Linked DNA regions of Homo sapiens: all the other regions are linked to region 1. Evidence: promoter capture Hi-C in 16 types of primary human blood cells and fetal thymus (Javierre and others, 2016). All regions are on one chromosome and are shown on one strand. Each heading gives the region's core, a stretch centred on a gene start or on the middle of the fragment in contact. The rest is flanking DNA. Distances are from core to core; before and after follow the strand shown.

Evidence for each region. Contacts are between HindIII fragments. The CHiCAGO score rates a contact against its expected background, and 5 or more counts as called.
Region 2: a contact is called between a fragment that was not itself captured here and the fragment with the promoter of SRSF4 in region 1, in 1 of 17 cell types (neutrophils). The highest score is 5.4, in neutrophils.
Region 3: a contact is called between a fragment that was not itself captured here and the fragment with the promoter of SRSF4 in region 1, in 2 of 17 cell types (activated CD4 T cells and total CD4 T cells). The highest score is 5.3, in activated CD4 T cells.
Region 4: the fragment with the promoter of GMEB1 here is called in contact with the fragment with the promoter of SRSF4 in region 1 in 1 of 17 cell types (neutrophils); the score reaches 5.0 in neutrophils.
Region 5: the fragment with the promoter of SNHG12 here is called in contact with the fragment with the promoter of SRSF4 in region 1 in 12 of 17 cell types (neutrophils, total CD8 T cells, erythroblasts and 9 more); the score reaches 14.4 in neutrophils.
Region 6: a contact is called between the fragment with the promoter of TAF12 here and the fragment with the promoter of SRSF4 in region 1, in 12 of 17 cell types (non-activated CD4 T cells, neutrophils, naive CD4 T cells and 9 more). The highest score is 10.0, in non-activated CD4 T cells.
Region 7: a fragment that was not itself captured here is called in contact with the fragment with the promoter of SRSF4 in region 1 in 2 of 17 cell types (neutrophils and fetal thymus); the score reaches 5.4 in neutrophils.

What each region holds. Positions count from the first base shown.
Region 1 is chr1:29,180,030-29,183,176 of GRCh38, forward strand. It overlaps SRSF4 (serine and arginine rich splicing factor 4), which reads right to left and starts at 1,871. Exons shown (of 6, transcript NM_005626.5): 1 at 1,617-1,871. The coding sequence starts at 1,723. It also overlaps a transcript of MECR not described here. RefSeq lists silencers at 1,470-1,659, 1,710-1,919 and enhancers at 1,924-2,561, 1,990-2,219, 2,562-3,147. The HindIII fragment of the contact is 7,304 bases long and covers 1-3,147 here.
Region 2 is chr1:28,490,687-28,494,129 of GRCh38, forward strand. PHACTR4 (phosphatase and actin regulator 4) reads left to right here. Exons shown (of 14, transcript NM_001048183.3): 11 at 265-326; 12 at 964-1,101; 13 at 2,329-2,405. Among named protein-coding and RNA genes, the nearest start is that of SNHG3, 14 kb to the right of the region's middle. The HindIII fragment of the contact is 5,965 bases long and covers 1-3,443 here.
Region 3 is chr1:28,396,723-28,400,066 of GRCh38, forward strand. The region is part of intron 1 of PHACTR4 (phosphatase and actin regulator 4); the gene reads left to right. Among named protein-coding and RNA genes, the nearest start is that of PHACTR4, 29 kb to the left of the region's middle. The HindIII fragment of the contact is 1,507 bases long and covers 758-2,264 here.
Region 4 is chr1:28,666,645-28,670,113 of GRCh38, forward strand. GMEB1 (glucocorticoid modulatory element binding protein 1) reads left to right here and starts at 2,140. Exons shown (of 10, transcript NM_001319674.2): 1 at 2,140-2,195. RefSeq lists silencers at 2,112-2,251, 2,282-2,391, 2,402-2,691 and enhancers at 3,222-3,271, 3,322-3,381. The HindIII fragment of the contact is 26,935 bases long and covers 1-3,469 here.
Region 5 is chr1:28,581,325-28,584,498 of GRCh38, forward strand. SNHG12 (small nucleolar RNA host gene 12) reads right to left here and starts at 1,659. Exons shown (of 6, transcript NR_146382.1): 1 at 766-1,659. RefSeq lists enhancers at 1-40, 41-826. The HindIII fragment of the contact is 3,732 bases long and covers 1-2,402 here.
Region 6 is chr1:28,641,487-28,644,871 of GRCh38, forward strand. TAF12 (TATA-box binding protein associated factor 12) reads right to left here and starts at 1,581. Exons shown (of 6, transcript NM_005644.4): 1 at 1,506-1,581. TAF12-DT (TAF12 divergent transcript) reads left to right here and starts at 1,770. Exons shown (of 2, transcript NR_146730.1): 1 at 1,770-2,277. RefSeq lists a silencer at 3,131-3,385. The HindIII fragment of the contact is 14,626 bases long and covers 735-3,385 here.
Region 7 is chr1:28,246,407-28,249,611 of GRCh38, forward strand. No RefSeq gene overlaps it. Among named protein-coding and RNA genes, the nearest start is that of SESN2, 12 kb to the right of the region's middle. RefSeq lists enhancers at 586-755, 1,997-2,196. The HindIII fragment of the contact is 6,700 bases long and covers 1-3,205 here.

The DNA.
Region 1 (3,147 bases), core at 621-3,120:
TCCCTCTGATTATAGCTGCCACTTACTGCCTAAGCCAAATGCTTTACATTTATTATCTCTAATCTTCCTTTTCCACATGAATGAACAACCAGGTTCAGAGAAGTAACTTGCCCATACGTAGTAAGTGGTGGAACCAGGATTTGACTTAGGCCTGGCTGGCTTCAAAATCCACACTTTGTCCACAAAAGTTAGTTATGCTGTCAATTTAGCTGGGCTCTGAAAAAAACTGGAGTTTCAACTTTCACATATATGGTATGTATACAATAACGTCTACCCGCCACTTCAATATATCCTTAAGAACTGAACGTTTTACTGTAGAAAAGGAGTAGTTTTTAAAGCCTTTTACTGTAAAAGAAATCAGTACTTTACTAAAGACGTCCTCAGAAAGAAAACGATTCTAATAATTAATTTGAAATGGCTTTTTAAACCCAAATCATCATTTGAGAATACGGTAGCTACCAGTTTTCTCATACGTGAAACATACTTAGGTAACTTTCAAAATGTTTCAGGTGTCAGTTACTAGTATAACCCTGGGGAGTAAACGGTAGCTATATTACAACTGTTGCAAAGTAGAGTTTCTTTTTTAAGCCAAGAGTTCTCTAACACCCAAGGTTTAGTGCCCTAAAATGTCACCCCAGTCCTTTTAATTTTATATCCATGCCTTCCAAGCCCTACCTAACATCTGGTTCCCAGTTTTCCCCGTTGAGTATTTTCTCCAGGCCTGATTCCTCAACAGTTTTCCCTAAAACCTGTAGCTCATGCTGGCACTATTTTTGCCGAAGTAGATTAAGAATACAAGTAATAGATCATACTCTGGGGGAGGCAGTAAGTTAACAATTTCGTCTCCGTCTGCGTTAACCAGACGCAGATACTAGCCAGGGTGGCCACTATTCTCCTAACAAATTCTACAACGGCCAAGCAATTTTTCGGTAAGTTGGAAAACGGAAACCACAGCGTGGAAACTCTGCACGGAGTCTTAAAGATAAGAAGTTAAGACTTTAATTTACTCTTGCAGAGGGAACGGTGAAGGCTTTCAGCACGGCAAGACGATACTTTCGAAACTGTCACTAGACTACTCAAACTGGAGTCTCCCGCCCAAAAAAGCGTGGCACACGGCTAAAAAGGGCCTCCCTCCAAGGCTCCAGTCCTCGGGGAAGACGGCGCTGTGACCGTCTGATCCATGAGACCGGGCAAGAGGTGAAAGGGAGCAGGAAATCCTGTTTATTTCCAGTAGTCCTCAGAGCGGGAAAGGTTGGTGTCTACCCAGAAACGAATAGGGCCCCAGTTCCGGGCCTAGGAAGGGAAAACCCAGGTCTCCCGGGCGCCCTGGAGCTGTGCCCCCCTGCCCGGAGCACCAGCCCCACTCGGGCTTTCCTTCTCCCCGTCCCACTCAGGGCCTCAGCACAGCTCCCATTATGCCTCCACCACCCCCACCCGCGCAGGCGCAGTGGGAACCGGGGCCTACCCGCGCCCCCGAGGCGCCGCCACTATGGCGGAGCCTGGCCAGGCCGGTAGCCGCTCCGCGCGGACCAGGCGTCCCTCTCCCGTCCCCGCGGCCTCCCCACCACCTATGGGGTCTGTCCCCGCCCGGCCGGACCCTCTTTCGCCCTCCTCACCCGTTCTTCAGATCCACCTCCAGGATCTTCCCGTAGCCCTTAAAGAAGCGCTCCACATCGCGCTCCCGGGCCTGGTAGCTCAGGCGGCCGATGTACACCCGCGGCATCCCGGCAACGGCAGTGATGGCTGGCCCCGGCCCCAGCCCCCCTTAGGCGGCGGCGGGCAAAGCGAGAGCACGGCGGCAGCGGCGGCGGCGGCAACGGGCGGGCGGCGGGACGGACGCAGCCGAACCCCGGCGACGTACGCGAGCACGCAGCTCGCGAGCGCGCGCTTCCACTTCCCCCGCCCTTCCCCGAGGCGGAAGGTAACCGGAGAGAGCGCGCGTTCGCTTCCCGCTCGGCCAGGACTGGGGGAGGAGCTTGCCCGGGGGCGCGCCGACGTGCGGCGGGGCAAGGTGATCGACAGGCGGCGCTGCGGCACGTCCTCGCGCGAGCTCGCCAAAGGGGTTCCTGCACCGCCTTCCGCAGCCAGCTGGCTTCGCCCCTCCCCCGGAAGTGTCCGCACCTCCTAGAGCCCAGCGAGCGAGCGTTTGTGCTTTTGTCCTTTGAACCGGGTGTGGTTTGGATTTCGGAGCTGGAGCTTTGGAATCAAACCTAGCTTCCAAACGATTGTGTACCCGTGACCTTGGGCTTGTTACGCGCGATGTCTCGGACCCTCCTTTATCTTTTCTGTAAAAGGGGGAGAGTAGTTCCTACCTTCCAGAGTTGTCTTGAGAATTATATGAGAATACGTACATAAAGCACTTAGTAGTTTTGTCATATCAAGTGCCCAATAAATGAGACCAGTATTATTTTTAAGAGGACACTGCTTAAATAGAAGCAGTGTGAGAAGCGGAGAAGGCTGGAGCTTTGGAGCTAGACTAGGCATGACGCCGAGTAAATTACTTGACCACAATCCAACCTATTTTTTTTTTTTTGAGACGAGTTTCGCTCGGTCGCCCAGGCTGGAGTGCAGTGGCGCGACCTCAGCTCACTGCAACCTCCGCCTCCCGGGTTCAAGCGATTCTCCTGCCTCAGCCTCCAGAGTAGCTGGGACTACAGGCGCCCGCCCCCACGCCCGGCTAATTTTTGTATTTTTAGGAGAGAGGAAGTTTCACCATATTGGCCAGGCAGGTCTCAAACTCCAGACCTCAGGTGATCCGCCCGCCTTGGCCTCCCAAAGTGCTGGGATTACAGGCGTGAGCCACTGCGCCTGGCCTATCCAGTCTATTTTCTAACCTGTAAAATTAGAATAATGTATACCCATCTCAAGGATTACACAGGTCACTAAATGGGGTAGTGTATGTGAAAGTACTTGGAACAGTGTCTGAAACATGGTAAGAGCTCAATAAATATTGGTTCCCTTCTCACTAACGCCATGTACCTAGAACCATAAAGGGTTTTGTTTCTTTGCTTGTTTTTGTTTTTTGAATATTTTGAAAGGATAACTCAAGGTTCAAATGATACACAGTGAAAAGTCTTCGCTGTCCACCAGCCACTTAGTTTCTCTTCCCAGAGGCAGTTTCTGAAATGTCCTTTAGGAGGTTAATTT
Region 2 (3,443 bases), core at 490-2,989, 690 kb before region 1:
AATACAAAAATCAGCTGTGCATGGCATGTGCCTGTAATCCCAGCTACTCGGGAGGCTGAGACAGGAGAATCGCTTGAACTCGGGAGGCCGAGGTTGCAGTGAGCCAAGATTGTACCATTGCACTCCAGCCTGGGCAACAAGAGCAAAACTCCGTCTCAAAAAAAAAAAACAAAAAAGAAATATCTGTAATGTAATTACTAAAACGTTTGATATGCAAATTGTCATTTGTGAGTAATATTCCTTCCTTCTGATTGTCAACTGTAGCTAAAAATGAAGCTGATCGTCAGGCAGAAAAACGAGAAATTAAACGTCGGCTCACTAGAAAGGTACTACTGCCTGTGTGTTCAGTTAACTATATGTGTTATATTTGGATGGCCTATTTGATTGGAAATGAATTCACAGCTGGGCACAGTGGCTTGCGCCTGTAATCCCAGCACTTTGGAAGGCCATGGCAGGAGGATTGCTTGAGCCCAGGAGTTCAAGACCAGCCTGGGGAAAACAGTGAAACCTTGTGTCTACATTAAAAAAAAAAAAAAGAAGAAGAAAGAAAAGAAAAAGAAAAAAATGAATTTGCAGCCTGGGCAACATGGCAAGACCCCACCTCTACAAAAAAAAATATATATTAGCCAGGCATGGTGGTATGCGCCTGTAATATCAGCTACTTGGGAGGCTGAGGTAGGAGGATCATTTGAGCTTGGGAGGTTGAGGCTGCAGTGAGCTGTGATTGTGCCACTGCACTCCAGCCTGGGTGACAGGGCAAGACCCTGTCTCAAAAAAAAAAACAAAACAAAAAACCACCTGATAACCATAATCACTGGGGGTGGGACCTCCAGGGATCAATAGTGTCTAAAGCTCCCCCAGGTGATTCCAATGAAGATTGAAGCACTGGGTTAGAGGCAATTTGAATGCATGATTGATGCCTAATTATTGGCTTGGTGAACTAAGAGGCTCCGTTTCCTTCAGCTCAGTCAAAGGCCAACTGTCGCTGAACTCCTTGCCAGGAAGATTCTGAGGTTTAATGAATATGTAGAGGTAACAGATGCTCAAGATTATGACCGGCGAGCCGACAAACCTTGGACCAAACTGACCCCTGCTGACAAGGTACCTGGAAAGCACTCTCTTGCTTTTTTTCTCTTTCTCTTTTTCTCTTTATTTGGAGGATCCAAGATACTAACTAGAAGGGAGAACCATAAACAAAACTTCTAGTTTTAATATAATATTAAATTTCAAATCAAGATACAAAATGCCAAGTTGAACAAGTCAAAATGTTATACTAACTCAGTATGTTTTGGTAACTCCACCACCAATACTGAAAGAAAGAAAATCCCTGCTATCTCACAGAGTAAAAATACTGGAAGGAATAAATACATTTCAAACAGTGGTTGTTTGGTTAGAGGGAGTTTGGGCTATATATTTTAGTAATTACCAATATTTCATTTTTATAATGCTGTGAAAAACTATAAAAGCTGGCCAGGCGTGGTGGCTTATGCCTGTAATCCTAGCACTTTGGGAGGCCAATGCAGAGGGATCACTCGAGGTAAGGAGTTCGAGACCAGCCTGGCCAACATGGTGAAACCCCATCTCTACTAAAAATACAAAAATTAGCTGGGTGTGATGGCATGCACCTGTAATACCAGCTACTTGGAAGGCTGAAGCAGGAGAATTGCTTGAACCTAGGAGGTGGAGGTTGCAGTGAGCCAAGATCATGCCAATGCACTCCAGCCTGGGCAGCAGAGTGAGACTCCACCTCAAAAATAAAAATAAAAAATTAAAATTAAAAAAAAAACAAAACTAGCCAGGTGCAGTGGCTCACACCTGTAATCCCAGCACTTTGGGAGGCCGAAGCAGGTAGATCTCTTGAGGTCAGGAGTTCAAGACCAGCCTGGCCAACATGGTGAAACCCTGTCTGTACTAAAAATACAAAATAGCCGGACGTGGTAGTGCGCACCTGTAATCCCAGCTATTCGGGAGGCTGAGGCAGGAGAATCGCCTGAACCCAGGAGCTGAAGGTTGCAGTGAGCTGAGATTGCACCACTGCACTCCAGCCCCAGCAACGGAGCGAGATTCCATCTCAGGGAAAAACAAAAATAAAAACAAAACTATAAAAGCTACAATATATCTTTCAAGATTTTCAAGTATTTTGATTAAACTAAAAATTTTAGGTTTATTATGAGACAGATGGGTATCATTGTGTTGACCTGGTGTCTGGGTTGCCTGTGAGGGGTTGCAGTGACTTACAAAGTTAAACACAGTACAGAAAAATGACAAGTTACACTGCTGTGCAAAGCAGCCAGAAGAAGCTGAAACATTTTTGTCTCTACTCCACAGGCTGCCATAAGAAAAGAATTAAATGAATTTAAAAGCTCCGAGATGGAGGTTCATGAAGAGAGCAAACATTTTACACGGTAAGACCCAAAAGACCCAATCATATATGTGCTAGGTAGAGTTTTCCAAAAAATTGTTCAGATATGAAGGGCTCTAATGACATCAGTAAAAAGGAAAACACTCAGTGTTGATTGCAAGACTGCATTCAAAGGGATGAAAAGTAAGAAGCAATAGTAAATGCCTAGGCCAGGTGCGGTGGCTCACGCCTGTAATCCCAGTACTTTGGGAGGCTGAGGCAGGTGGATCACCTGAGGTCAGGAGTTTGAGACCAGCCGGACCAACATGGCAAAACCCCATCTCTACTAAAAATACAAAAATTAGCTGGGCCTGGTAGCAGGCGCCTGTAATCCCAACTATTAGGGAGGATGATGCGGGAGAATCACTTGAACCCGGGAGATGGAGGTTGTAGTGAGCTGAGATCATGCCATTGCACTCCAGCCTGGGTGACAAGAGCAAAACTCCATCTCAAAAAAAAAAAAAAAATAAGTAAATGTGTATTCTGATTATGGCATTTCATGTATATTATTTAATCCTTGTAATAAACATGCAAGATGTGTTAACATCCCCATTTTATCACTGAGGAAATGGAGGCTCACAATGGTTAAGTAACTTGGTTGACTTGCTAGTAAATTGCAGAACCAGGATTCGGAGAAAGAAATCAATGACTTCAAGGATGTGAGGTGCTCTCTTCCTTGTACCTTACTCTCTCAGGTTATAAATGAGGAGACTGTGCTAAGTTAGACAAGATCTTGCCCTCTCTGGTTCAGTTCTGTCTAGCACAGTTGATCTTACCAACTTAATGTATAAACAACATTTTAATTAGCTGTCTTCATGAAACAAGCCAAGAAATCCAACAAAGCCAACAAGCCAACAAATCAAGTGTTTTGATTTGGAATTACGGTTGTGATTAAGGACCCACCCATATCCAAAGAATCAGCTAGCCACAAATGGAATCAGTGAAAGTATCTTTACATGATTCTTAGAACATTTACAAAAAGAGGCAAATGAGGCTGAGTGCAGTGGTTCATGCCTGTAATCTCGACACTTTGAGTGGCTGA
Region 3 (3,344 bases), core at 261-2,760, 780 kb before region 1:
ATCTCGGCTCACTGCAACCTCTGCCTCCTGGGTTCAAGCGATTCTCCTGCCTCAGCCTCCTGAGTAGCTGAGATTACAGGCTTACACCACCACGCCCGGCTAATTTCTTTCTTTCTTTCTTTCTTTTTTTTTTTTTTTTTTTGTATTTTTAGTAGAGACGGGGTTTCACCGTGTTGGCCAGGCTGGTCTCAAATTCCTGACATCGGGTGATCTACCCGCCTCGGCCTCCTAAAGTGCTGGGATTGCAGGTGTGAGCCACCGTGCCTGGCCGTGATATGCTTTTAAATCAAGTCCAAGAAAATGTGGAAATAACACTTTAGTTGTTCAGTCTGCCAATGTAAATTTAGGTTTCATTATCTTGATGGTGTTTTTAGACATTGTGTATTTTGATCAGGCTTTGAATCATGATAGAATTAAAAACTGCTTTTTTTGTTTTAGAACTGAAATGGAGGAGTGAGGTGAGCTTTAAGACTGCCAACTATATGCCAGGCACAGCCCATTTCTTCCTGTTTTATTTTATAATAAATGCTATTTCATGAGATTCTCATTAAAGATGAGTATTATTAATCCCACTTGAATCCCCAAAGACAAGAAGGTTAAATTATTCTGCAATATTATCTTTTGTAACCAAAATCATTAACCAGTTTGTATATGATTGATATTTGAAACTAACTTGTGCTAATTTGTCCAATGAAAGATAATGCAAGTTCTCTTAACCAGTAAACTTTTGTTCTTTTGATTTTTGCCTGGCTTGTTAAGCTTTCTCAGGAGGGAGAAGGTTATTTTGAATAACACGGGTCTAGCGTTACAGCAATTACCCAGAAAGGAATAGAAAAGGCAGAAAATAATTTCATTCTTGACGGTTTCCATCTGAGTAGATTAATTTATATTTGTATGTACAATCTGAGGCTATCTTGGACATTCAAAATGAAACAAGGAATGAAGCTATTATTAGGGTAATTGAGAAAAAAATAATTTTTGCTTTTTTTTTTTTTTTTGAGTCTTTCTCTGTCGCCAGGCTGGCGTGCAGTGGCGCAGTCTCGGCTCACTGCAACCTCCACCTCCTGGGTTCAAGCGATTCCTCTGCCTCAGCCTCCCGAGTAGCTGGGACTACAGGTGCGTGCCACCATGCCCTGCTAATTTTTTGTTGTTGTTGTTGTTTTTGTATTTTTAGTAGAAACGGGTTTTCACCATTTGGGCCAGGATGGTCTTGATCTCCTGACCTCATGATCCGCCCGCCTCGGCCTCCCAAAGTGCTGGGATTACAGGCATGAGCCACCGCCGCTGGCCTAATTTTTGCTTTTAATATCAAGTTTCTAGCCTGCAGTACATGCTTCTGTGTTTCTTTCACTGAACTGACCTAGCCACAGTTACCAAGTTGAGGAATTGATACATTCGAAGAGTTCTGTTAAAGGTGGGAAGAGGATAATATATTTTAGAATTCTCATATACCTATGTTAACACCACCAAGGCTGTGGCTGCCATTAGCAACAGCAGCATTAAATATCTGTTGGGTGGCTGGCCGGGGTGGCTCACGCCTGTAATCCTGGAACTTTGGGAGGCCAAGGTGGGCAGATCATGAGGTCAGGAGTTTGAGACCAGCCTGGCCAGCATGGTGAAACCCCGTCTCTACTAAAAATACAAAAAATTAGCCAGGCATAGTGGCATGTGTCTGTAGTCCCAGCTACTCAGGAGGCTGAGGCAGGAGAATCACTTGAACCCCACAGGCGGAGGGTTGCAGTGAGCCGAGATCATGCCACCGCACTCCAGCCTGGGCAACAGAGTAGACAGACCCTGTCTCAAAAAATAAAATAGGCCGAGCACGGTGGCTCATGCCTGTAATCCCAGCACTTTGGGAGGCTAAGGCAGGCGGATCGCTTGAGGTCAAGAGTTCGAGACCAGCCTGGTGAACATGGTGAAACCCTGTCTCTACCAAAAACACAAAAATTAGCCGGGCGTGGGGGCACATGCCTATAATCCCAGCTACTTGGGAGGCTGAGGCAGGAGAATTGCTTGAACCTGGGAGCTGGAGGTTGCAGTGAGCCAAGATCGCGCTACTGCACTCCAGCCTGGGTGACAGAGCAAGACTCTGTCTCAAAAAAGAAAAAAAAATTTAATTAATTAAATACTGATATTCAAAAAGAAGCACTTTTGAGGCAATAGTTTTATCAGATCTCAAATATGTATGTTTTGTATCCATCCTACTGGTTCTGTTTCTGAGAAGAACCCTAATACAGAAGGTATTCCGGAAGACACGTTAGCCAAGCTTGAGATTTAAAGGAATTAGCTGTGTAAAGAGGTAGGAAAGGCTGGGTGCGGTGGCTCACATCTGTAATCTCTGCACTTTGGGAGGCCGAGGCGGGTGGATCACCAGAGGTCAGGAGTTCAAGACCAGCCTGGCCAACATGGTGGAACCCCATCTCTACTAAAAATACAAAAATTAGCTGGGTGTGGTGGCACATGCCGGTAATCTCAGCTACTGGGGAGGCTGAGGCAGGAGAATCGCTTGAATCCAGGAGGCGGGGGTTATAGTAAGCCAAGGTCATGCCACTGCACTCCAGCCTGGGCGACAGAGCAAGACTCTGTCTCAAAAAATATATATATGATGAATAATTTTGTGTTGATGAAATTTCTGCTGTGTATAAATATTTTTTGAGTTTAGTATGTCTCTACTGTTAAGTGATATGGCATGATTTATTTCTTTTACCACTTTTCGGTATTCACATTGCCAGGAAACTTGTTCCTTTGAAGTTATTTGGTTTTCTCATGGCTCACATACGTCATGGATACTTACCTAATTCCATTTCTATTAATTTCTTGTTGGTCTCGGACTATGTAGTACTGTTTGGTGCTAGTGTTCATTTATTTATTCAGTAAGTATTTTCTTAGTACCTAGTGTATGCACCTTCTAAATGCAGGGATATAGTAGTGAACAGAACAGATAAAGTATCTAATGATACTTTCTAGATTGGGAGAGACACAATAAGAACTTAGGTAAGCATATCTATAGATAAATTACAGATAGTATACCATCAGATAGTGATACATTAAAATAAAAATAAAACAGGGTAAATGGATAGAATGTTTTGAAAAGGGGGTGCCAAGGAAAGGCCTCTCTGAGGGAGTCACACTTGAGTGACCTGAAATAATGGAGCAAATCACGCAGTTTCTGGGAAAAGAGCATTCCAGGCTGACTGAATAACAACTGCAAACCCTAGGGTAAGAATGTGCTTGTTATGTTACAGAAACAATAGTAAGCTCAGTATGGGTAAAACAGAGTGAGCAAGAGAAGTAGGAAATGTGGTCAGTGGAGCAGACAGGGACCAGGACATGTAGGATCTTAT
Region 4 (3,469 bases), core at 890-3,389, 510 kb before region 1:
CCCAGCTACTCGGGAGGCTGAGGCAGGAGAATCGCTTTAACCTGGGAGGCAGCCAAGATCGCACCACTGCACAGACCGAGACTCCGTCTCCAAATCAATCAATCAATAAACAAACAATTATGGTGGCTCACACCTGTAATCCCAGCACTTTGGGAGGCCAAGGCAGGAGGATTGCTTGAGCCCAGGAGTTAGAGACCAGAGTGGGCAACATGGTAAAACCCCATTTCTACTAAAAATGTAAAAATTAGCCAGGCATGGTGGTTCCTGCTTGTGGTCCCAGCTACTCCGGGGGCTGAGGCAGGAGGACTGCTTGAGCACTGGAGGCTGGGGCTGCAGTGAGCCGAGATCCCGCCACTGCACTCAGCCTGGGAGATCAACCCAGACCGGTCCCCCCCACCAAAAAAAAGAAAAAAAGAAAGAAAAGAAAAGAAGGGCCGGGCGCGGTGGCTCACGCCTGTAATTCAACACTTTGGGAGGCTGAGGCGGACGGATCACAAGGTCAGGAGATCGAGACCATCCTAGCTAAGACGGTGAAACCCTGTCTCTACTAAAAAATACAAAAAAATTAGCCAGGCGTAGTGGCGGACGCCTGTAGTCCTAGCTACTGAGGAGACTGAGGCAGGAGAATGGTGTGAACCCAGGAGGCGGAGCTTGCAGTGAGCCGAGATTGCGCCACTGCACTCCGGCCTGGGCGACAGAGCAAGACTCCGTCTCAAAAAAAAAAAAAAAGAGAAACTTACTTAGTAGGGTTGCTGTGAGGATTATACAAGACAGAAGCATCTTCACCAAGCCATAGGCCATAGAAAGGTCTTTTTGTTTGTTTGTTTTTTGAGATAGAGTCTCACTCTGTTGCCCAGGCTGGAGTGCAATGGCCTGATCTCGGCTCACTGCAACCTCCGCCTCCCGGGTTCAAGTGATTCTCCTGGCTCAGCCTTCTGAGTAGCTGGGACTAGAGGCGCGTGCCACGACGCCCGGCTAATTTCTGTATTTTTAGTAGAGACGGGGTTTCACCATGTTGCCCAGGCTGGTCTCGAACTCCTGGTCTCAAGTGATCTGTCCGCCTCGGCTTCCCAAAGTGTGGGATTACAGGCGTAAGCCACCACACCTGGCCATAGAAAGGTCTTAATACGGCCGGGCGCGGTGGCTCACGCCTGTAATCCCAGCTCTTTGGGAGGCCCAGGCGGGTGGATCATGAGGTCAGATATTGAGACCATCCTGGCCAACATGGTGAAATCCTGTCTTTACTAAAATACAAAAAAAAAAAAAAATTGCCGGGCGTGGTGTCGCGCGCCTCTAGTGCCAGCTCTTCGGGAGGCTGAGGCCGGAGAATCACTTGAACCCAGGAGGCTGAAGCTGCAGTGAGCCGAGATCGCGCCACTGCACTCCAGCCTGGCCAAAGAGCAAGACTCTGTCTAAAAAAATAAATAAATAAATAAAAAATAAAGGTCTTAATACTTGTTAATTACTATTACTGACCCCAGGAACTCTCTGAAGCACTTTTCATGCAGGTATCACCTTCTTTAGCACTCACATTATGTCTTATCGGAAACAGGTTTAGAGCTGTCAAGAAATTCCTCCAGAGTCGTTTACACTTCCAGCAGGGGAGTCAAGACTTCAACCCAGAAACTCACAAGCAGGAAAAACTTGGCAAACAGGCACGGGTCAGACAATGCTTAGGGCTTGCTCAAGGACTCGTGACCAGTTACTGATCTATGCAGATCTTCTGATTGCAAACTGATAGCTGGATTGTAACTTGAAGGGTCCGATAAGATGTAAACTTCATAAAACAGGATTTGGGGAGGTAAATGGAGTAGAGTCCTCCAGAGGAGTCGAGAAAGCTAGCTTGGCCCTCAATTGTGGTTGAGGTGATTCTTTCATTTAGGGCCTATTTTCCTCATCTATGAGTGCGGGAAGGAGAGTTACTGGGGTCTCTAGCGACCTTTCCAACACTGATTTTCAAGGGCGAAAGAATTCTGCTTAGGTAAGGCCCAAATCCCTTGGCTAAGGTTAATCCTCGGTGGGACCGGCAATAGGGACGCGTCCCCTTTAAGGCGCCAGCTCTCCGGCGGCGGCGGCCGGAAGTGTTGAAGCCCGGCCTGGCGGCGGCGGTGGCGGTAGCTGCCGTGGCGGCCTCTGCGCATGCTCCGTCGCCTGCCCGCCCTGGCCGCTCGCCGCCCGCCCGCCCGACGGAGACGGTGAGGAGGGGGAGGGGTGGGCGCGCGGGCGCGGGGTGGGGTGGGGGCGGGGGGGCGGGCGCGGGGGCCGCGCGGCGGCCGGCGAGGGCGGGCGGGCGCGCAGGGGGCGGGGGGCTGCTGCCTCCGCGGGCGCCTCCCCACGCCCTGTGCGTGCCGCCGCCGCCGCCGGGGAGCGAGCGGACGTCGCGGCGCCGCGGGGGGGTGGGGGGACGCTGCCGCTGGGTCCGCCCGAGCCGCCGGGCCGCCCCCAGCGCAGCCGGCCGCGCCGCCGGGGCTCGGGCCCCAGACCAGGGCGGCGGGAACCGGCGAGTCCACCACTGGGGGGGCCCCGGCGCCCCCGGACCGAGGGGCCCGGAAGTACTCGGCTCAGGGGCCAGGAGGGGCCGGAGTGACTCCGGACTGAGAGGGCCAGGCGCCCAGGACCCCATCGAGGGGTCCGGGGAGCCTGGGGTATCCCCAAAGGCGGGGTCCGGGGAGCACCGGGCCCTTGGATGAGGAGCTGGTTGGAGGCCTGGGTCCTGCCCAGTGGGAGGGGGACGATAGGTGCTGGAAGCCCGGATGCCCGCCTGGGAGGAGACCCTCTCGGAGCCTTGGCGGGAGAGCAAGAGTACAGAGTGGGTTCTTCTGAGGAGAGCAGAGTCCAGCTTATCCCGAGGGGCGCGGTAGAGGCCTCGGCCACTCAGAACAAGGGAAAAAAGGGCAGGTTTTTTCCAAAGGCAGGGAAGGAAGAGGAGCTCTAAGGGGAAGTGAGCAGGCCCAGGTCTCCCCACAGATGAGCGCGTGGTAGGAAGACTCCTAGAGCCTCCTGAAGTACGAAAGAGCAGCGTCCAAACCTGAGGGGATGGAAGGTGTCTAGGTGCCTCTTGATGTCTAGGTGGAGAACAAAGTAACCCGCTCGGTCAGGGGATGGAGAAACCTATCTTTTTGAGAGAAGCAGAGATCGTTGAGGAAAGATGCTTAAGGTGTTCCCGCTTTCTGAAATGACAGGAATTGGCCAGGTGTTATCTAATTGAGGGGCAGGAGAGATGAAGGCAAAATCTCAACCCGAGGGTCTTTGGAGGATGATCCACAAGACAAGAGGGTGAAGTCTTGACCTAGACAGCAGAGCAGGCGCAGCCCTGGATTCTCTCAAGATGAGAGAAATCTCAAAACCACTTCCTAGTAGACACAGATGGGGCCTTGATTGGTGTCTGTTTAGGCCAATCAAGACGGGTTTTAGGAAAAGAGACTGTCAGACATAATTCTAGTCTTGAGGGATTATCTTCTTCCTCCTT
Region 5 (3,174 bases), core at 409-2,908, 600 kb before region 1:
AGGGTCTGAATGCCTAAAACCCGTCCTTCTGAAAACCGTGTCTACCAGGGCGACCTCCAGAGGTCTCGCGCGTAGTCACCAGTCCCAAAATCACCTAGCTGGTAAATGTCACAGATTCAACTGGAGGCCATCCTGACACCAGCATGCGGCCTCCCCCTGAATTAAGACACTTCAGGCCCAGGGATTCATCCCCGCATCCCCCAGGAGACCGGTTCCCAAACCCCCACCCCTTCCGTAAACCCGGCCGCCTGCCTGCAACACTCACCTGTCAGCCCAGAGCGCAGCGTTGCGCAGTCCGAAGCGAGAGAAGGGCGCGGCCCCCGCGGGCTCCCGCCCCTCTCACTGCCGAGGGGGCCTTTCGGAGCTCGGGCCCACCGGGTTGGAAGGCCCGGCTCCTCCGTGCCACATTCACCACCATCTCGAGGCCGTGGGAGGAAAAACCCGGCGAGTGCGCGCCAGCAGCAGCGACTAGCGGGGAACGGCGCGCAGGAAGGCAGGCAGAGGCTTGCAGCTAGTAAGTCGACACCGGGAATGCGGCGGGGAGAAAGGGCGCTGAAGCCGCGAGCAAGAGCTTATATAGGCCGCCCCTCGCGGCCACACCCGACAGTAGGCCGCCCGCGTGGCGCACAGCTGCCTGGGAGTTGTAGTTTGCTCGCCCCGGCGTTGTCCGCGCGTCACCTCCCCAGCCCTACGCGCGTGTCCATCCCGAGCCCGCGAAGCGAGAACCGCCAGAGGCTTTCCTCCGAGCGGAAGAAGCGCCTTCACCTTTCAGTGCCCGGCGCTGGGCCCACGCAGGAAGCCGACCCGCCTTGGCCTCTGGAGTTGTCTCTGGGATGTCTTTCAGTCTGGAAATGAACCCTGTGTGCTGGGAAAGGGCTCGGGCTCCGCTCCGAGCTCAGTGGGCGTGCGAGCGAGCAGCGCCTGAGTGGGTTTCGGGGAGGGGGTCATACTCCCCGAAAGGCGATTTATTCAAGGCTTGTCTCTTCCACTAATATGTAATTTTACTGAGCGCGTGCTATTTTAACTGTGTCTGATTATCTGATCTAGTTTTCATAAAAACCCTGTGTACGCTCTGTGGACAAATAAGGAAACTTAGGAATGGATCACACAGCTATCGCAAGCGAGGAGAGGACTGGAATTTGGAGCCCACCCCAGGCACCACACATAGCGCAATGTTTTGCCCATGGAATGAATAAGCCTCAGTATGAAAACTTAGTGGTGATTGCCGAGAATTAAACACCCATCCTGTGCCTAATCTATTAATTTTTATTCTTACATACACTTTTTTGTTTGAGACAGGGTCTTGTTCTGTTGCCCAGGCTGGAGTGCAGTGGCGTGATCAAGGCTCATTGCAGCCTCGACCAACTGGGCTCAAGCAATTCTTCCACCTCAGCCTCCCAGGTAGATGGGACTACAGGTGCGGGCCAACTTTCCTTGCTTACACTTTAAAAAGTAGGTACTACTGCCGGGTGCGGTTACTCACGCCTGTAATCCCAGCACTTTGGGAGGCCAAGGCGGGTGGATCACGAGGTCAGGAGATCGAGACCATCCTGGCTAACACGGCGAAACCCGGTCTCTACTAAAAAAAAATACAAAAAAAAATTAGCCGGGCGTGGTCGCGGGCGCCTGTAGTCCCAGCTACCCGGGAGGCTGAGGCAGGAGAATGGCGTGAACCCGGGAGGCGGAGCTTGCAGAGAGCCGAGATCGCGTCACTGCACTCTAGCCTGGGCAACAGAACGAGACTCTGTCTCAAAAAAATAAAATAAAATAAAAAGTAAGTACTACTTTAGCAGGTCGTGGGGGCGCATGCCTGTGGTCCTGGACTCCTCTCTTTCTCTAACATCACATGTCCAAGCCATCAGCAACTCCTGTGTGCTCTACCTTTAAAATGTATCAATAATCTGACTGTTTCTTACCCCTTCCACTGATGTTACCCTAATCGTTGACCCAGATGATAGCAATAGTCTCTTATCTCCCAGATCCTGCTGTTGCTCCCGACAGTCTGGTCTCCACACGCCAGCCAGCCTGCTAAAAGTTTTTTAATTTTTATGAAGTCTAAGAGTCAATTTTTTTTTTTGTAGTTTATGCTTTTTTTTTTTTTTCTTGAGACGGAGCTGCTCTGTCGCCCAGGCTGGAGTGCAGTGGCGCCATCTCAGCTCACTGCAAGCTCCCGCTCCCGGGTTCACGCCATTCTCCTGCCTCAGCCTCCCAAGTAGCTGGGATTACAGGCGCCCGCCACCACGCCCGGCTAATTTTTTGTATTTTTAGTAGAGACAGGGTTTCCCCATGTTGGGCAGGATGGTCTCGATTTCCTGACCTCGTGATCCACCCGCCTCGGCCTCCCAAAGTGCTGGGATTACAGGCACGAGCCACCGCGCCCGGCCGTTTGTTTACGCTTTAAAAGCTTAATAATTATGCTGGGCGCGGTGGCTCCCACCTGTAATTCCAGCACTTTGGGAGTCCGAGGGGGCAGATAACCTGAGGTCAGGATTTCAAGTCCAGCCTAGCCAACATGGTGAAAACCCGTTTCTACTAAAAATACAAAAATTAGCTGGGCGTGGTGGCAGGCGCCTGTAATCCCAGCTACTTGGGAGGCTGAGGCAGGAGAATCGTTTGAACCTGGGAAGCGGAGGTTGAAGTGAGCTAAGATGGAGCCATTACACTCCAGCCTGGGCGACAAGAGCGAGACTCCGTCTCAAAAAAAAAAGAAAAAAAGTAAAATTATTAAACTTTTTTTTTTTTTTTTGGAGATGAAGTCTCGCTTTTTCGCCCAGGCTTGTGCAGTTTATTCTGTGTCAATTATGCCTCAATAAAGCTGTCAAAAAACCATTAAGAAAAAATGTATATCTCCCAGGCGCAGTAGCTCCCACCAATTCGGGAGGCCAAGGCAGGTGGATTACCTGACATCAGGAACTAGAGACCAGCCTGGCCAACATGACAAAACCCCATCTCTACTAAAAATACAAAAAAAAAAAATTACCCAGGCATGGTGACACTCATCTACAGTCCCAGCTACTTGGGAGGCTAAGGCATAAGAATCGCTCGAACCTGGGAGGCAGAGGTTGCAGTGAGCCAAGATCATGCCACTGCACTCCAGCCTGGGTGATACAGCGAGACTCCCTCTCAAAAAATATATCTATATATATCTATCTATATCTATGTGTGTGTATATAT
Region 6 (3,385 bases), core at 331-2,830, 540 kb before region 1:
AAACAAAACAAAAACAAAAACTGCAAGGGGGGTGAGGTGACTCATGCCTGTAATCCCAGCACTTTGGGAGGCCAAGGTGGGAGGATCACTTGAGCTTAGGAGTTTGAGACCAGCCTGGGCAATATAGTGAGACCCTGTTTCTACAAAAAATTTAAAAATTAGCAGGGCGTGGTGGCACACGCCCGTAGTTCCAGCTACTCAGGAGGTATAGGTGGGAAGACTGCTTGAGCCTAGGAGGTTGGAGGTGCACGGGGCCAAGACTGAGCCGCTGCACTTCAGACTGGGCGACAGAGAGAGAACCTGTCTCAAAAAAAAAAAAAAAAAAAAAATTCCCTCCTGAGTTTGAAGATAAAGCAAAGATTCTAGAAGCATTTAAGGAACATTAACCAAGCATCTCATTTGCTACGCACAGAAGGGTACTGTATTAAAATTATGATCTAACTAACCATTGCCTCACTGTAATCCTAAGCCTCTTTGAACCTTAGCCTTCTTAAATGTAAAATAGGAGTTTTTAAAAGATGATCTTTTGGGACTCTTCCATCACTGACATTCTTTTATTTGAGATGCAGAGATCTGTGCTCATTCAGGGTTGAGTGGAATGGGATTTAAAGCACTTATCAAGTACATAACTGAGTTCCAACTGTTTTCAACTTCACATCTGATTCCCAAGAATGAAGCAGAAAATGAAGATGTTTGCATATGGGCTTCCTAGATTGAGTATCTGACACAAGAAAAGCTTGCCAAGAGCCAAGTAGGCAGTGCGAAGGAGAAGTTGTCTTCCCCTGAATACGTCCTTTATCTCTCTGGGTTCAGGGAATACTGTGAAAAAATGGATCACTAAATCTTTTCCAAACCCTTTCCCTTTACTTTGTAGGCTGATCTCATATCCATGGTCCCTTAGATCCAAGGCTTTTAGGAGCTTGGGTACTCACAGCCCTGTTCCGAGACTCAGGAACTCGGAGTCTCAAAGCCCGGATCCCGTCCCCAAAGAAGCCCCAGTCTTCACTGCCCGCTTCTGTTCCCTTCCAAACTCAAGTTTTCTCTGTCTGCTTCTGCCCCTCAGGAACCTAAGTCTTCGCTGCCCCGTTTCTGAATCCTTAGGAGCCCGGGTCTTCACTGTCCCGCTTCTGCCTCTTAGGAGCCCAAGTCCTCACCGCTCCACTTTTACCTCTCCGGAGCCTGTGTCTTCACGCCCCGTTCCTTTCTGACCCTTTCCTCGTAGGAGTGCGGGTCCTCATAATCCTGCTCCTCTCAGACCACTTTCCCTCAGATGCCGGAGAACTCGCATCCGTCCCCGTTCCCTAAGTCCCGTCTTAGAGCCCGGGTCCCCACAGCCGCGTCTTCTCCGAGCCTGATCCTCTCAGTCAGTCCCTTCCCAAGAGCCTGAATCCTCACAGCCCCGTCTCGTCCACAACCTGGTCCTTCGAACACTGACCCACTGTAGGTCTGGGTCCTGACTCCCTCCTCCCGCTCTTGTTCCTCAACTGCCAGGGCCCAAGACTCACAGGCAGCAGCGTCTATCTCCCCATGATATGCAGAGACTGCCCCAGTGAAGCGTTCGTCTCAGCAGCCGGTCCGACTGCGCGGCCCTCCCCGACTACTTCCGGCACCGCTCCCCGCCTCCAACCCGGAAACGCGCGGCTCTTCCGGCCGGCGGGCGCGCGCCTCGCTTGCGCAGGCGCAGACTGCCCTCCGACACGTGGTGGCGATATTGAGCTGTGTGTAGGTACACCCTGCAGCTTGCGCTTTTAACTGCTTGTGGTTGAGTGGCAGCATGAGCGAGCTCTGCGTATTCCAACCCGGCGTTAAGAATCCTTCACTAGCTTTTCTTCCCGACGCTGCTTATTTATCTATCGGTAGCATGACGGGTAATTGACGCCCTCGGATGGCTTTGAGGTCGCCATTTTTGGTTGGTGCCTTTGTCTTGGTGTCAGGACTGGGATATCATCTGGGACACATTACCCCACAGGTATCCTGTTGGACCTCAACGAGGAAGTTGGCAACAGAGGAACCAGGAGATGAGAGAGATCGGTTGGTTGTGCCTGTGAACTGGCAATTCAGTAGTAACAATTGAGTGCTTACTGTTTGCCGGGAATTGTGCTAATCCGCTTACCTCCGTTACGCCATTTAATCATTTAGAGGAGACCTGTGAGAGATTAAGCAAAGTTCTAGCTAATAAGTGCAGAGCCTCAGCTTGAACTCAGAACTCACTACTAAGCCAAAGCCTGTCCTGTAGCATTCTCTAATGCTTTCAGTTTTTCGGCTGTCAGATGCTTGGTGAGAACTGCTGTTATGTGGCTCACGCCTGTAATCCCAGCACTTTGGGAGGCCGAGGAGGGTGGATCACGAGGTCAAGAGTTCAAGACCAGTCTGGCCAAGATGGTGAAACCCCGTCTCTACTAAAAATACAAAAAATTAGCCGGGCGTGGTGGCATGCGCCTGTAATCGCAGCTACTCCGGAGGCTGACGCAGAGAACTGCTTAAACCTGGAGGGGCGGAGGTTGCAGTGAGCCGAGATCGCGCCACTGCACTCCAGCCTGGGCGACAGAGCGAGACTCTGTCTCAAAAAAAAAAAAAAGAGAACAGCTGTTATTTTTTACTGTATGCTGGAATGTTAGGCATGCAAGTAAGACCCAATTCCAGCATCTGTAAGGTTCACAGTAAGATGGAGAAGAACCCACAAACACACCAAAAATTGTATAAAGAGCTGTGACAGGCCAGAGTGAGCCACATAGAAATTAGGAAGAGGTGCCCAGATTGGTGCGGCATCCTGCCCTGTCTTTATATCTTCCTAATCCTCATCCTACCACGTTCCCAGTCCACCCTCTACACTGCCACCCAATCCAAATTCTCAGATTCAAGTCCTCATGAACATTGGGCTCTAAGCTGTATTCCTAGCCTTATTTCCTTGCCACTGCTCTCCATTCTTTTTAGGGTCCGGCATACCACTTTTTGTTGTTGAATGCCTATACATCTTTTTTAAGACCCAGGTTGAATGTATATACGTTCATTTGACAAGTGTTTGAGTCTCATTGTGTGACAAGCCTTTTGCTATGTGCTGAGTACATAACTGGTGGCTAAGACGGATGATCTCTGTCCTTAGAAAGTTTGCAACCTAGAGTGGGAAACAGACCATTAGCAACTGCACAAAAGGGTGATAGAAGAGAATACTGGAATAAGCCAGACTTATCTAGCTGGCTGATGGCCTGAGCCATGGTCTTCAGTAAGGAAAACACTTACTCAAGGACCAAGATGGCCAAGGTGGCTGGAGCTTTGGTAACCGGGAAAGACAATGAGTTTGGAGAGGTAGGCAGGGGTTTGTTATAGTCTGGACCTTTTAGCCTAGACTATGATGGGGACTTGAGATTATATTCAGTATGCAATG
Region 7 (3,205 bases), core at 306-2,805, 930 kb before region 1:
GTCCACCCCAGAGCTAACCAATGGTAACAGGTGCAAACTACACATCTTTCCAGATCTTTGTTTCCTCTGTGTAACTATGTATACAACTATGAGACTGTTCTATATGTATCATTGCGCAACCTCGGTTTTTGCTTCGTTCTGTTTTAACCTAACAGGAAATCCTGCATACCTTTCCATTTCAGAGCACTTGGAGCTACCTTCTGTTTCTTTGCTGTAGAAGCCGTTGTGTGAACAAATCCGTTTATTTCTCTCATCAGTCTCCTTTGATAGACATTTGGGTCACGTCCGGTTTTACGCTTTTACAATACATCAGTGAACAGCAGTAATACGAGCTCAAGACAGAAGGCCTGAAAAACATTGAAAAACACAGAGACGGAAAAAAAAAAACCACAGAGGGGGAAATATAATTTCGGGTTATTTCAGTTTCACCTTTACACTTTGTTATATTCCACATTTTTTGCAATAAATATAAATTTGGAAGTAAAAGCATAAAACGAAAATCAAACGATTGATTGATTGATTGATTGACTGAGACGGAGTATCACTCTCGTCGTCCAGGCTGGAGTGTAGTGGCGCGTTCTCGGCTCACTGCAACCTCCGTCTCCCGGATTCAAGCGATTCTCCTGCCTCAGCCTCCCGAGTAGCTGGGATTACAGGCGCCCGCCACCACGCCCGGCAAATTTCCAAACGTATATTTAAAAGAAGAAAAGGAAAAGAGGGGAAAAAAAGAAAGAAAGAAAGAAAGAAAGAAATTAGAAGCAGATGGGGCAGTTCAGCCTCTTCTCGCGGAGCGGGGCTAGACGGAGTCAGGGGCGGACCGCCACAGCCTGCACCAATCAGGACCCGGTTGATAGGCAGAGCCTGGCGACTTCGAAGACTCGCCCCCAGTCAAAGAGCCCCGGGGATTCGTTTCCGTACGCAGCCTGGAAACCAGCCTGGGCCTATCCTGCGCGCCGCTGCGGGCTACTATTGGCTGCCAAGAAACCCCGCCCATCTTCCTGCTCATTGGCCGGTGCGGTTTACGTAAGAGGAGCCTGTTGCTGAGCGAAAAGTCTGTTCTGCAATTTTCGCTAAGGAGTTGTTAACGCTGAAACCGCACTGGGCGTCCTGGGGTCAAAAAAACAATACTAGCCACAGTTTATTAAACTGCAACTAAATGCCAGGCTATGTGCGCCAAACTTTTAATATTAATGGTTGTAGGCACCTTTCTTGAACACCCACCACTATCAGCCAGTCACTGAGCCAGATCCTTCAAAATAACAGTAAAAATATAGATAATCTACAGTTTATTGAGCACTTCATCTGCATCAAGCCTTGTTAAGGGGTTTCCATGCATAAGCTCTCATTCTCACAATAGAACGGTGGAGGTAAACTATTGCCCCATTTAACATTTAACATGCAGTCCTGTAGACCCAGCTACTCGGAAGGCTGAGGTGAGAGGACCCAGGAGCTCCAAACTTAAGTGAGCTATGATCGCGCCACTGCACTCCAGCCTGGGCAACAGAACGAGACCTGTCTCAGAAAAACAAAAACGTAATAAAAGAAAAACAAAAACAAAAAAACAGGAAACGGGTTCAGAGAAGTGAAGTGTTTTGCTGAGGTTCACAAAGAAAGGGTTGGAACTGGAACCTTCAACTCCGATATCCTGATTCCAAGTGTGGCCTTTTTAGGGAGGGGGTCGGGGTACAGAATTCCGCTGGGGATAGGGAAAGGTAGGACAGGATGGTGGGAGGCCAGAGGCGTTGCTCCAGGGACAAGCCTCAGGGTGGTTCTCTGAGAATAGGATGTATAGAGCCTCTAGGAGTGGAGGGTTGGGGAAGGAAGGGAGACCAGAGGAAAGGGAGAAGTTGTTCTTTCTGAAAATGTGAGGCTTCTCTCCTGGGGCAGCCTATTAAGGTGTAGGTAGCCCTGGACCTCGAGATTCTAGTCTCCACTCTGTGGCCAACTTCCTAGGGAACCTTGGGCAAATTCCTCTCTCTCGACCTGAGGCTTCCTGCCTTGTAAGAGAGGTAGTAAGCCAAAACAATGGAAAGTGCATTCGGGCTGTGAAGTATTTTAGGACTCTGGTCCTTGCTGGCAGCAGGGGGAATCTTCAGCAACCACAGACCTTTACTTAGCTGTTGCCTGGCCTCTTTTCAAGACCTTCAGGCGGTGACATGGACCCTAACAATCCTATAAACTCAAAACGGTTTGGGCCAGCCCTTTCCTACTCCATTCTGACTTAGCTATAGCAGGATCTGGCCTGCAGGGGGCGTTGAGGAACCACTCAGCCGACAAAACTAAACTAAATCAACCAAGCAATTTGCCCAAAAGCACCCAGTGCGTTAGTTTTTGCATTTAAGAAGGGTAAACGTTTCCAAACCTGAAGATTTCTGTCCTCAGTATGCAATCGAGAAGACGAATTATATACACTGCCAGTTCTTTATGGCACCAGTTCTCTCCATAATGACTCTGCAAGTTTAGAGCTAATTTCTATTTCTTTGTTTTACAGATAGGGAAACAGATTCAAAGAGCTGGAAAAAAAAAATTCAGTTTGGGTTACTTGGCTAAAAGCTGGCACCCGAATTGCCTGACTCCTGGGAAGTGCTCTTAGGAGATAGTTGGCTTTGTTTCTGGGAGTCTGTGGTTGTACTGCCTGCTAATGCACAACTCCAAAGGACAATTTTGGTTGTGTAGCTTGACAGCTCGGCACCTGTCAGCTCTGTGCAGGAAGGACCTCCCTCCCCACCTAGCACAATGCCTGCTTCATGAGTAATTGAATTAATGTGTGACTAAGCCTTGAAGGATGGGTCTTCTTTGGCTTTATCAAACCAATTGGAGTGGAACTTCTTTCCTGAAAGTTCCCCCTGGGCAGGAATTGTATCTGAGATTAGTGGGTGGGGAGGGGGGAAACAATAAGAAGAGCTCAGAAAATGACATCTGGGGTGATAAATCACAGCCCCCCGAATGGTCCCATTACAAGGTCATTATAGTAAAGTGATCTCAGAATTTGAGACTAGAAAACTAATTCAGGAAGAATGAATACAGAACAGATGACAATCATATTAGGGTCATAATCTGAAATGGATCTAAGGCTGAAGACATCTCAAAAACATTTCAAATCCAGTCTAGGTAGGTGTATCTTTGGGACTGGAAGGTGATTGAGGAATATAAATAGCTGGCCAATCAGTGGCCTCAACATAGCTGATGCAAGAGTTGAGAGTGT